Regions from separate parts of the Homo sapiens genome. Here all the other regions are linked to region 4. Evidence: promoter capture Hi-C in human tissues and cell types (Jung and others, 2019). All regions are on one chromosome and are shown on one strand. Each heading gives the region's core, a stretch centred on a gene start or on the middle of the fragment in contact. The rest is flanking DNA. Distances are from core to core; before and after follow the strand shown.

Evidence for each region. The method cuts DNA at HindIII sites, captures the fragments that hold promoters and counts their contacts. A contact is called where the count stands out against the background at its distance.
Region 1: a contact is called between a fragment that was not itself captured here and the fragment with the promoter of TGM6 in region 4, in 2 of the 25 tissues and cell types used here (IMR-90 fibroblasts and mesendoderm cells).
Region 2: a fragment that was not itself captured here is called in contact with the fragment with the promoter of TGM6 in region 4 in 4 of the 25 tissues and cell types used here (heart left ventricle, liver, mesendoderm cells and 1 more).
Region 3: a contact is called between the fragment with the promoter of TMC2 here and the fragment with the promoter of TGM6 in region 4, in 1 of the 25 tissues and cell types used here (mesendoderm cells).

Annotation. Positions count from the first base shown.
Region 1 is chr20:2,207,393-2,209,892 of GRCh38, reverse strand. It overlaps LINC03086 (long intergenic non-protein coding RNA 3086), which reads right to left. Exons shown (of 2, transcript NR_161305.1): 1 at 2,374-2,500. Among named protein-coding and RNA genes, the nearest start is that of LINC03086, 1.7 kb to the right of the region's middle. RefSeq lists an enhancer at 2,374-2,500. The HindIII fragment of the contact is 5,318 bases long and covers 1-2,500 here.
Region 2 is chr20:2,248,143-2,250,842 of GRCh38, reverse strand. No RefSeq gene overlaps it. Among named protein-coding and RNA genes, the nearest start is that of LINC03086, 43 kb to the right of the region's middle. The HindIII fragment of the contact is 7,144 bases long and covers 1-2,700 here.
Region 3 is chr20:2,535,207-2,537,906 of GRCh38, reverse strand. TMC2 (transmembrane channel like 2) reads right to left here and starts at 1,334. Exons shown (of 20, transcript NM_080751.3): 1 at 1,252-1,334; 2 at 591-638. The coding sequence starts at 1,285. The region is part of intron 2 of LOC105372504 (a long non-coding RNA gene); the gene reads left to right. The HindIII fragment of the contact is 10,824 bases long and covers 1-2,700 here.
Region 4 is chr20:2,379,615-2,382,314 of GRCh38, reverse strand. TGM6 (transglutaminase 6) reads right to left here and starts at 1,414. Exons shown (of 13, transcript NM_198994.3): 1 at 1,340-1,414. The coding sequence starts at 1,346. The HindIII fragment of the contact is 30,296 bases long and covers 1-2,700 here.

The sequences.
Region 1 (2,500 bases), core at 1-2,500, 170 kb after region 4:
CGAGGCTACAGTGAGCTGTGACTGTGCCACTGCACTCCAGCCTGGACAACAGGGTGAGACCCTGTCTCCAAAACAAACAAACAAAAAACAAAGGGCCAGGCACAGTGGCTCACACCTGCAATCCCGGCACTTTGGGAAGCAGCCAAGGCGGGCAGATTTGAGATTAGGAGTTCAAGACCAGACTGGCCAACATGGTGAAACCCCATCTCTACTAAAAAATACAAAAATTTAGCCGGTCATGGTGGTGCATGCCTGTAACTACTTGGGAAGCTGAGGCACAAGAGTTGCTTGAGCCGGGGAGGCAGAGGTTGCAGGTTGCAGTAAGCCAAGATCATGCCACTGCACTCCAGCCTGGGTGACAGAGCGAGACTGTCTCAAAAAAAAAAAAAAAAAAAAAGAGAGAGAGAGAGAAAGAGAAGAATATGGTGAATATGATGTTCTTGCCAATGGAAGAAGTCAGTCCAGGAGCCCAAGTCTGGGAATCCATAACAGGGGCCGGATTACACTGCAAGCAATAATGAATGTAGCTGCCAACATACATTTTATTTCCAACTGAGAAATAAGAAGGCCTCAGAGGGGAAAATTCACTTTCCCAGACTTTTTAGTGGGGTGGAGGGGTAGAATCATTCTCATTTGACCCCCGTACATCTTGACATTTCTACTTATTAGAAATTAAAGTATAAATTAAGAAGCTTACTCTCCCTTCTCAGAATCCCATAGCTTCTCATCTGTAACTTCCTCAAAGCACCTGCCACCTTCTCCTACTACCCTGGAGAGTTGCTGACAGATGCTAATTTAGTTTTACTAAATATATTACCTTACCGGAAAGGCTAAACATGCATAATAGATAATACCAGCTACCCTTTGTTGAAAGAGGCTTACAGATGGATGAGGAAACAGTGACCTGCCCAAGTAGCATTATCAAGACCAAAATCCACCTGACTCACAGCCCAGTGGTCTTTTAAGGACACGATCCTGCCTCTTCTACAGAACCATGTAAGACGCTGAAAAACTTTGGGAAATAAAAGGAGAAATGCAGGCAAATGTTTCTGTAATCCAGCCAGAGACTAAGAGTCCTTGTAGCAGGACAAGTGCAATCCTTTCCAACCTCACAAGGCAAACAGACGATAATAGTTGTCAAAAGACAAAAATTACAAGAAATTTAGTTTAAAATCTTAATTGGCTTATATTTGCATTCTAGAATCAGCCGATGCCTCGTTCTATAAAACAGAATGAGTGCTCTGATGAGCTGAGCTGAGGAGGCTGGCTTTATAGACAGAAAAGGGCTGAAGAAAGCAGAAACACAGAACAAAAAGCGAATTGGTTGTTTCAAAGTTATTTTCCTTGTAAAGGTTAAAGCAGAGAGGACTTCCTCATCATGCCAGCTAAAGCTGGTTTACTTGGGCATTTGGCTATATTAACTGTCTCTCTCTCCTAATTTCTAGGAAAGTCAAATAAGCAACTTAGTTTCAGCTTGGTGGCACGGAACTTCAGCATAAGTGACTCCATGTTGGGTTGATCTGTTGGGCATAGTGCAGGAGCTCAGTCCAAACCAATAGCCTCTTATAAATTTTATTTAACATAGTGATAACAACAATATGACCATGGTAATAATAGAGGCAGCTTACTATGTGCCTGGCACCATTCTAGGGACTTCACAATCTTTTTTTTAATGTCCTAAGTTCTTGAAGGCAAGGGGCTTTACAAATATTAACTACTGTAATTATTATAACGGTATTAAGTGGGTACTATTATTATCCCCACTTTTTAATGAGGCAAGGTTGAGAGGTCAACTAACTTGCCCCAGGCAAGCCCATGAGCACTTCCCACGTGCTAGAAACTAAGTCCAGAAATTGTACTAAGTACGATTAACTCGTTTAATACTCAAAGCAATCCCAAGATACCTGCTATCATTATCAGCACTTTCAGAGGGAACCAACAGAGCTCAAGGCAGCCTGAACCCGGAGCCCGCGCTTAGCCACCAGCTGCGTGGCTGCGGGCAGGGCGAGCTGACCCAGGCTGGGTGCGCGTGGGGCGGGGGCTGGGTAGAGATCTGTTCGCTCGAGTCCTCAGCAAGGGCCGCACTGGACGTCAGCTCTGAGTGTGACCAAGGCCCCCGGCTTCTCCAGATCTGGACGCCCCAGCCCGGGAGCTCCGTGCCAGCGAGCCTCTGAGCATCGCGGGCCGCTACTGCCCCCTGCCGCCGCCCGGGCCTTGCAGGGAGAGCTTGCCCGGAGCAGAGGCGCACGGCCACCGGGCCCCGGCAGCTCCCAGCCACGACCACCCAGAGACCCCGCAGAGGAAGCGGAAGCCGCCGCCCGGCACTTTCTGAATTCCCCTCTCCGCCCTCAGGTCCCTGCGGCCTCCCGTCACCTGCGTCACTTCTCGTGGGCTGGCGGATAGAGCCCGGCGGCTCCCCCACCCACTCGGCTCGCAGCCCACGCTCCCGACGCCCGAGTTGCCATGGTGAAGGACGCGGGAGAAACGCCGGAAGGGGCAC
Region 2 (2,700 bases), core at 137-2,636, 130 kb after region 4:
GAAACCCAATGAGAACATCTAGAAGATAAAGAGCCTATTCTTTTTTTGTCATCAATTTTATAAACAGCTTCCAGGCTGTGAAATTAAAGGGGACATAGAAGAGATGTTTTTTCTTAATTTTTTAAAATATCATCCACAGACTCAGCAGGTGAAAGAGATGTTTTTTGAGGCAACTTCTCAGTGTTCACTAGACTCTAACCTCCTCTCTCCGATTAACACAATCGGTCTGCGAAGCCCATCCATTTCAATAAAACTCAGTGAACATTAGCTGGACCTTGAAGGTGCTCAGCTAGGCATTGCACAGAGTAGAGCATAAATGAGCTACAGTACCTGCCTTTGAAGTAAAATAAGCATGTTCACCACCTCAGCCCAAAGCCAGGCTAGATAGCTGTCACGGAGGAAAGGTGCAAACTCTCACAAGGGTAGAAGGGAGAGCAGGATGGCCAGAGAACTTAAGGCTGGAAGGAGAATGAGCTGCTGGACCCTAAAGAACAGTCTGGGTTGGGTACAGTGGTTCAAGTCTGTAATTCTAGCACTTAGGGAGGCCAAGGCAGGAGGATCACTTGAGCCCAGGAGTTTGAGACCAGCCGGGGCAAGATAGTGAGACCCCGTCTCTACAAAAATAAAAAAATTAGTGTCCCCTGTGGTGGTGTGTGCCTGGAGTCCCAGCTACCTGGGAGGCTGAGGTGGGAAGATTGCTTAAGCCCAGGAGTTCAAGGCAACAGTGAGCTATGATTGCACCACAGGACTCTGGCCTGGGAAACAGACCAAGACCCTATCTCTAAAGAAAAAGAACAAGCTGATTGTCCATAATGAGATGCAACAGCATGGCTTACTTTGGAGAATTTTCCAAAAGCCAGATCATTTGTTTGTCTTTTTTAAAAAAAATCCGTTTTAAGAATAAATGTACTTAACAGGAGATTACCAGGAAATGTTGGCTTTCACTCATTTTCTTCAAGGGACACTTAGAATTTACTGAAAATAGCACAAGAACAAAATGAGGCCAGTTGCAGTGGCTCACGCCTGTAATCTCAACACTTTGGGAGGCTGGGGCATGTGGATCAACTGAGGTCAGGAGTTCAAGACCAGCCTGGACAACATGGCGAAACCTCATCTCTACCAAAAATACAAAAATTAGCTGGGCATGGTGGCGGACATCTGTATTTCCCAGCTACTTGGGAGGTTGAGGCAGGAGAATTGCTTGAACTCAGGAGGCAGAGGTTGCAGTGAGCCGAGATTGTGCCACTGCACTCCAGCCTGGGCAATGAAGTGAGACTCTGTCTCAAAAAGAAAAAAAAAAAAAAAAAAAGCAAATGAGCTGGGATTCCAAATAAATGGGTTCTATTTCTAAGACTATGAAACTTTAGTTAGCTGGGCCTTGATTTCATCATCTGAAAAATAAAAGAGATGGTGCTAAATCAGTGGTTTTCACTTGTGCTTCATGGAACCTCAAGAGTATGGGGAAGCAGGGTATGACCCCAGACCCACTAGGCTCACAGTAGCTCAATTTCTGAGTCTTAATTGGGCTTCTAAGCAAGGCTTCATTTTGAATAAAGAATTTTGCTATTTTGAAAAGTTAAAATAGGCTGGGTGTAGTGGCTTATGCCTATAATCCCAATGATTTGGGTGGTTGAGGCAGGGGGACTGCATGAACCCAGGAGTTTGAAACCGGTCTGGGCAGCATAGCTAGATCCCATCTCCGAAAAAAAAAGAAAAGAAAGAAAGAGAGAGAGAGAGAAAGGAAGAAAGAAATAAAGAAAGGAAGAAAGAAAGAAAGAGAAAGAAAGAGAAGGCGAGAGAAAGGAAGAAAGAAAGAAAGGAAGGAAGAAAGAAAGAAAAAGAAAGAAAGAAAGAGAAAGCGAGAGAAAGAAAGAAAATAGGGTTTGCAGCCAGGTGCGGTGGCTCATGCCTGTAATCCCACACTCTGGGAGGCCAAGGTGGGTGGATCACCTGAGGTCAGTAGTTTGAGACCAGCCTGGCCAGCTTGGTGAAACCCAGTCTCTACTAAAAAATACAAACGTTAACTGCGCCTGGTGGTGAGTGACTGTAATCCCAGCTACTCGGGAGGCTGAGGCTGGAGAATCGCTTGAACCTGGGAGGTGGAGGTTGCAGTGAGCCAAGATCTTGCCACTGCACTCCAGCCTGGGCGACAGAGCGAGACTCCGTCTCAAAAAACAAAAACAAAAACATAGGGTTTGCTGAATACTTTGGTGGGGTTGTCTTGCATCCAGAGTCTGGGACTAGAATGATCTCCTCAAAGTACAAGTTCAGGGCATTCCATGATTTTGTGTATTTATTTTTACTTCTTATGACATTATTATACAACAATTTATTTTCTCTACAATGTTTTTAAAATCCTCAGACAACGTTTTCTTCTTTTCCTTTTCAGCCTCACTCTTTTTTTGTGTTATTTTTCTCTTTTCTTCTCTATTTTCCATTCACTTTCCTTTCTTTTTAGATGTGTGTGTAGAAGGCCAGGCACGGTGGCTCATGCCTGTAATCCCAGCAATTTGGGAGGCTGAGACAGGCAGATAGCTTGAGCTCAGGAGTTCGAGCCCAGCCTGGCCAATATGGTGAAACCCTTTCTCTACTAAAAATACAAAAAATATGCATGTTGGTGCGCATGTGCAATCCCAGCTACTCAGGAGGCTGAGGCACAAGAACCTGGGAGACAGAGGTTGCAGTGAGCCGAGATCGAGC
Region 3 (2,700 bases), core at 85-2,584, 160 kb before region 4:
ATATTTTGTGACATGAAGATGCCCAGCCTGTGAGTGTGGCTTCTGCCCCTCTCCCCTGAACCCTCAGTCTCAACCAAGGGTTTTCTCTCCCGCCTATGGCTTCCTTGGGCTCTCCCACTTCTCCTGGAGCAAGTTGGCTCCCTCACCGGCTCACGGGAGAGCTGTGGTCACATTCCCAGTGGGAAGGTGATGGAGCACCCATTATGCCTACTACTTTTTGGAGGTTAAGAGTGTTCCTCCTAGAGTCCGGGGGCCTGGATGTGAATCTGGCCACACCACCCGCCAGAAGCCTGCACCGAGCTTCCCTGCCCTCTGTCTGGTGAATGTTCACTGCTTCCCAAGGCTCAGCTCAGAGTGTCACTAACCCTGGGAGTCTCCCCTGACACCGAGGGCTGAGCAGCACCTTCTCTGAGTGGTACTCTGCCCCCTCCCATGTTAAACACCTTGCCTCCCAGGAAGGCTCCATGCAGGGTGTTGAATGAGAGGGAAGGAGATGAAGGAGAATGTTGGATGGGTGGCTGGACTGTTGGGCTAAGCAGAGGGCACCCAGGCACTGCAGGCTCCCCAGAGACCCCACCACCCCATCTCACCTGTGTGTGGAGAGCCGCTCTTCACCCGCCCTTTCACTCCGCCTCGTGCTGTAAGAGACAGGATTGCTGACAAATGGCTGGCCTCTGGTGAGTCCCCCTCCCTGCAGACCCCCGGTCACTGTGGGACCCCTCAGCTGATTTGTGGCTGCCTCAAACTGGGACCCAGCTCCAATGATTTTACTCAGCAAATTATAGAGTCCCCTGCCTGTCACATTTGTCTGATACTGTCAGTCATGAGGTCAGAACATCCCCCACCCCCTGCCCTGCACAGAGACAGAGACAGATAGAAATCTGCTGAGGGGCTTGCTCGGAACAGGCAACCCTAACCGAGACAATAGGTGGCTGAGACGCCCCAGCAGGCTCTGAGGAGCATGCATCGGCCGTGACAGTCTCCAGTGCTGGCCTGAACACAGGTGCTGTGCACAGGTTGTCTTGAATCCTTCCAGTAGCCCTGCAAGGAGGTGATGACTACCCCCATCTCATGCGTGAGGATCAGAGAGGTTGAATAACCAGCCGAGGTCGCTCAGCGCACAGGGGACAGGCCCTGGACTCAAACCCAGCTCCTCCCTATGCCTCTGAACACCATATGTGCTTCCCCCATCCCCTGCTGCTGCCCAGGAACCCTGTGGGCGGGCCCCGCAGGATCAGGACGTGGACTCACCTTCCTCTTTCAGGCCCTTTACCTGGTGGCTCATGGTCAGCAGCACTGCTGGGGTCCTGCACAGGCTCACGCAGCGTGCTCCTGTATGCACGCCTTCAGCCTGGGCTGCTTTCCTGCCCTCATGGTGGCTGGCCTCCCTTCCTAGACCTGACAGCAGGCGGGGCTTCTTGGTTTGAGATTGAATGTGGAGGTGGGTGAAGTTTGGGGGAGAGAGACGGGTGAAGGAAGGCGACGAGTTCCCGGCCCATCAATCCGGCCACACACTCCTCTTCTCAGGTTTCCCTGCAAAGAGGCAGCATGGCCTCATGTTTCAGGCATCAGTTATACATGAGGGGCCCTGGAGGGGCCAGGAGCTGCAGGCTTATCTCCTGGCAATGATGCCGCTGGCACTCTAGCCAGAGGAGGTGTGAGGAGCATCCCAGGCCCTCTCCCACTATCTTGAGTCCCTGATTGGGACAAAGCACCAGGGAAATTCTAGAATGTTTGTTTAAGTTATTACTTGGGCTTCTGTTTAAAATGCAGATTCTGGCATGTGGTGGTTCACACCTGTAATCTCAGCACTTAGGAAGGCAGAGGCAGGAGGATTGCTTGAGCCCAAGAGCTCAAGACCAGCCTGTGCAACGTAGTGAGACCCCATCTCCACAAAAAGAAAAATAATAATAATAAATTTTTAAAAATAAAATGCATACTCCCAGGAGTGGCACTGGGCGTTGGAATCAGTCAGTCTGTGCCAGGCCCTGGGAGCCTGCACTGTGGATCCTGCTGCAGGCGTCCTGAGCCCACACAGATGAATGTTCCCGCTCAGCCCCCGCCCCCTCCCTCAGCAGCTTTTCCTCCCTGGCTTCAGGGAGGCACAGATTTGGCTGCTTTGAAAACCATCACTAAAGTGTCAGAGGGACCCTCTGGAAGGCAGTCATAAGGTCTCAGAGTGTGGAGTTCTTAATCTGGAGTCCCTGGAACCCCCAGAGCTGTGGATGGAATTCTGTGGGTTTGTGAATAGTGATGGAGAAAATACTACACTTTCACTTTTCCTAGCCTTAACTGCGATTTAGCATTTCCCTCAATCATGAATGTAAGCAAAGATGTGATTTTTGTCTCAGCAAAAGTCACAGTTATTTTTTTTCCCAATTAAACCACTGGGGATGTCTCAAAATATCTTACATGTTATCACAACTTCAAAATTATGATAGTTAGAGACCTGCCATGAAATCTTGTTATTTAATTAGGAAGCATATATTGTCATTATATGAAAGATATTTAAAGTGATTTTGATGCCTATTTCAGGATCATTGGTCTCCTTTGTAATCCTAGTGTTTTATTTTATGGATTTAATGTCTATGTTCTGAAAAGCGGTCTGTGGCTGGGCGTGGTGGTTCACGCCTGTAATCCCAGAATTTTGGGAGGCCAAGGCAGACGGATCACCTAGGGTTGGGAGTTCCGGACCAGTCT
Region 4 (2,700 bases), core at 165-2,664:
ACAGGCAGTCTGGGCTGTGAGCTGGTGTTGGCAAGGCCTGGTCTTCAGAACAGACCTATCCTAGGAGCCTGAAGGGCCCAACACGTCCAGCAATGCTGTTAACTGCCAGGAGGAAATATGAAGAGGAAGCTAGACTATGATGAGGAAATTCAAATATCTGCCTTTGAAAGTTAAAAAAATATTTGATTCATAAAACTGTCACATAATGCTGAACAATTAAAACTGGCAGACACAGACTCAGAAACACCCCTTGAATACCTGTGAGTGTAGGACCCCTGGTTCTGCTGACTTGCTCATTACCGGGCCCCAGCATCTAAGACAAGTTCTTGCAGAGGGAGTTTGCTGCTCACTATATTGAGGTCGTGGGGGACACATTATCTTACTTTCTTTTTTTTTTGAGACAGGGTCTCACTCTGTTGCCCAGCCTGCAGTGCAGTGGCACCATCTTGGCTCACTGTAGCCTCTACCTCCTAAGCTCAAGCGATCCTCTCACCTCAGCCTCCCAAGTAGCTGGGACTTTGGGTGTTCCCCACCATGCCTAGCTAATTGTTGTATTTTTTTGTAGAGACGGGGTTTTGCCACATTGCCCAGGCTGGTCTCAAACTCCTGAGCTCAAGAATTCCACCCCCTTCAGCCTCCCAAAATGCTGGGATTAGAGGCGTGAGCCACTGTGCCCGACCCACATTTTCTGAGTCTACTGTTTACAAGTCCCCACTTGAGATGTGTGGTGGGAGAACAGCACACGTGGTCTCACCAACTCCTCACAGCAAGGCTGTGAGATAATTTGCATTATAATCCCCATTACACAGATCAGAAAACAGAGGTACCAAGGGCAAATTTTCTTGCTCAAGGTCATATAGCTGTTTTCACTTGAGCCAGAGCTGCTCTTGCCCTCAAGTGCTTGGGGTGGGAATCAGGCGAGGATGCAGCCGGTGGGGGCCTCTCACTCCTTCCCACGCAGGCCACAATTCCCAACTATGCCCAGAAACGTCTCTGGATCCATGGAATGTGCATGGGGTGCAAGGAGATTTTCTTTTTTCTGCCCCTGCCTTCCTGTGCCTGCCTCCTTCAGTCCTCCGAGGCACAGGGGTGAGACCTGGCCCCAGCCCAGGAGACAGCGCCTGAGCCAGCCTGGGCCATGGCCTTGCTGGGTGGCTTAAAGCTGGCTTTTTCATCCTGGGCCTCATGAATCCACACGAAGAGTTCATGTGTTCATGGTGGACTATCCAGCTGTAAAATCCTAACAATCGATGATCAAACGTCATCCCACAGACCCGTGTTTCTTGAAGCCCCCCTCATGAGCCCTGGTGTCCCAAGGCCCCAGGCTCTGCCCACTTACCTGCCATGTGAAGGCCAGCTGGACTCCTCTGTTCCTCCACACAGCAGTGTGTGCACCGTCAGGACAGTGTGGCGCGTCACAGCAGCCAGCCAGACCAATTTTAACAAGGAAAACCTTGGGACACTCCTAGGCAGGAAAGTCAGAATTCAAAAGAGGAGGCGTGGCCCTCCACCCTAGCAGCGACACCCACGAGACACAAAATCATCCTGTAATTGCACCTAGAGGGGTTCACTGTGGGAGTGGCTCCTGCCAAGAGACCTTGGAAACACGGAGTTGCGAATGGGACTGTGGAGAAACTGAGGCTCAGAAAGGTCACAAGCCTGGCAAGAAAAAGAACGGGGAAAGAGAGAAGACTGAGGGAACTCGGATTTATGGTTGGCCATTCTTAGCCCTCACAACAACCCTCAAATGAGAAAAAACAGGCTCAGCGCCAGGACCCCGAAGTACATGGTTGCACGCTGCAGTGCCGGGTCAGTCTGTGGCTCCCTCTCCCCTCCTGGGTGAGAGCAGAAGACTCCTGGGCCCACAGCTCCACTCTGTTCTGCAGGCATCTAAAGAGGCAGAGGTCCATGATCCTCCTTCAGGGCCACTAGACTTCCTTGGTGGACACTAGACTCTTGAGAGGAGGTAGATAAGAAAAAGGGGAGAGCTGGTTCTGACTCAGAAGCTAGGCCCATCTGCCCTGACTTTGTGAGTGGCCTCCAGCCAGGAGCTTAGAGGCCTGGTGGCCATGGGTGTCCCGTGACCTTGGACAAGACCTCTCCCCTCCTGGAACCCTGGTGTTTCTACCTACAAACTAAAGGGATTGGACTCAATTATTCTTCAGGGCCATTCCAGCTCAAAGTCTAAGATTCTGGGCTTGAAGGTGCTGGAATTCAAGGCATCTGAGGTCTTTTGTTAATGAAATAGAGGGGATTTTATTTTCATGGAAGCCGGTGGGGTAGGTTTCTTTTTGCCGGAGAAATGCTTTGATGGATGACTTGGGGCTATCGAAGGCTGGATGTGGCCTGGGCCAGTGAGGAAGGGGAAGTGGGAGGGGGTAGAATCGAGGGAAAGAGACAAGGAAGGGTAAGGAGACAACCGTGTGCTGAGCACAGTAGGATGAGGCCGCTCCCTGGGATCACCCCAACATTCAGGAAACTGCATAAAAACCCCAAAGTGTTTGATGTGGTTGGATTTCTTACAGAAAGTGGCAAAGAGGCTGAGTTCTGCTTCCTGGTTTCACGCAGATCAAGCGTCTTTAATGAGCTGTCTGCAGACCCACATAGCCTTATAATTACTGACATCTGGCAGCAGCCCAGGGCAGCTCCTTCCTCAACACCCTGCAGGCTGCTGCCCTGTAGACCCTGGGCCCTGCTGAA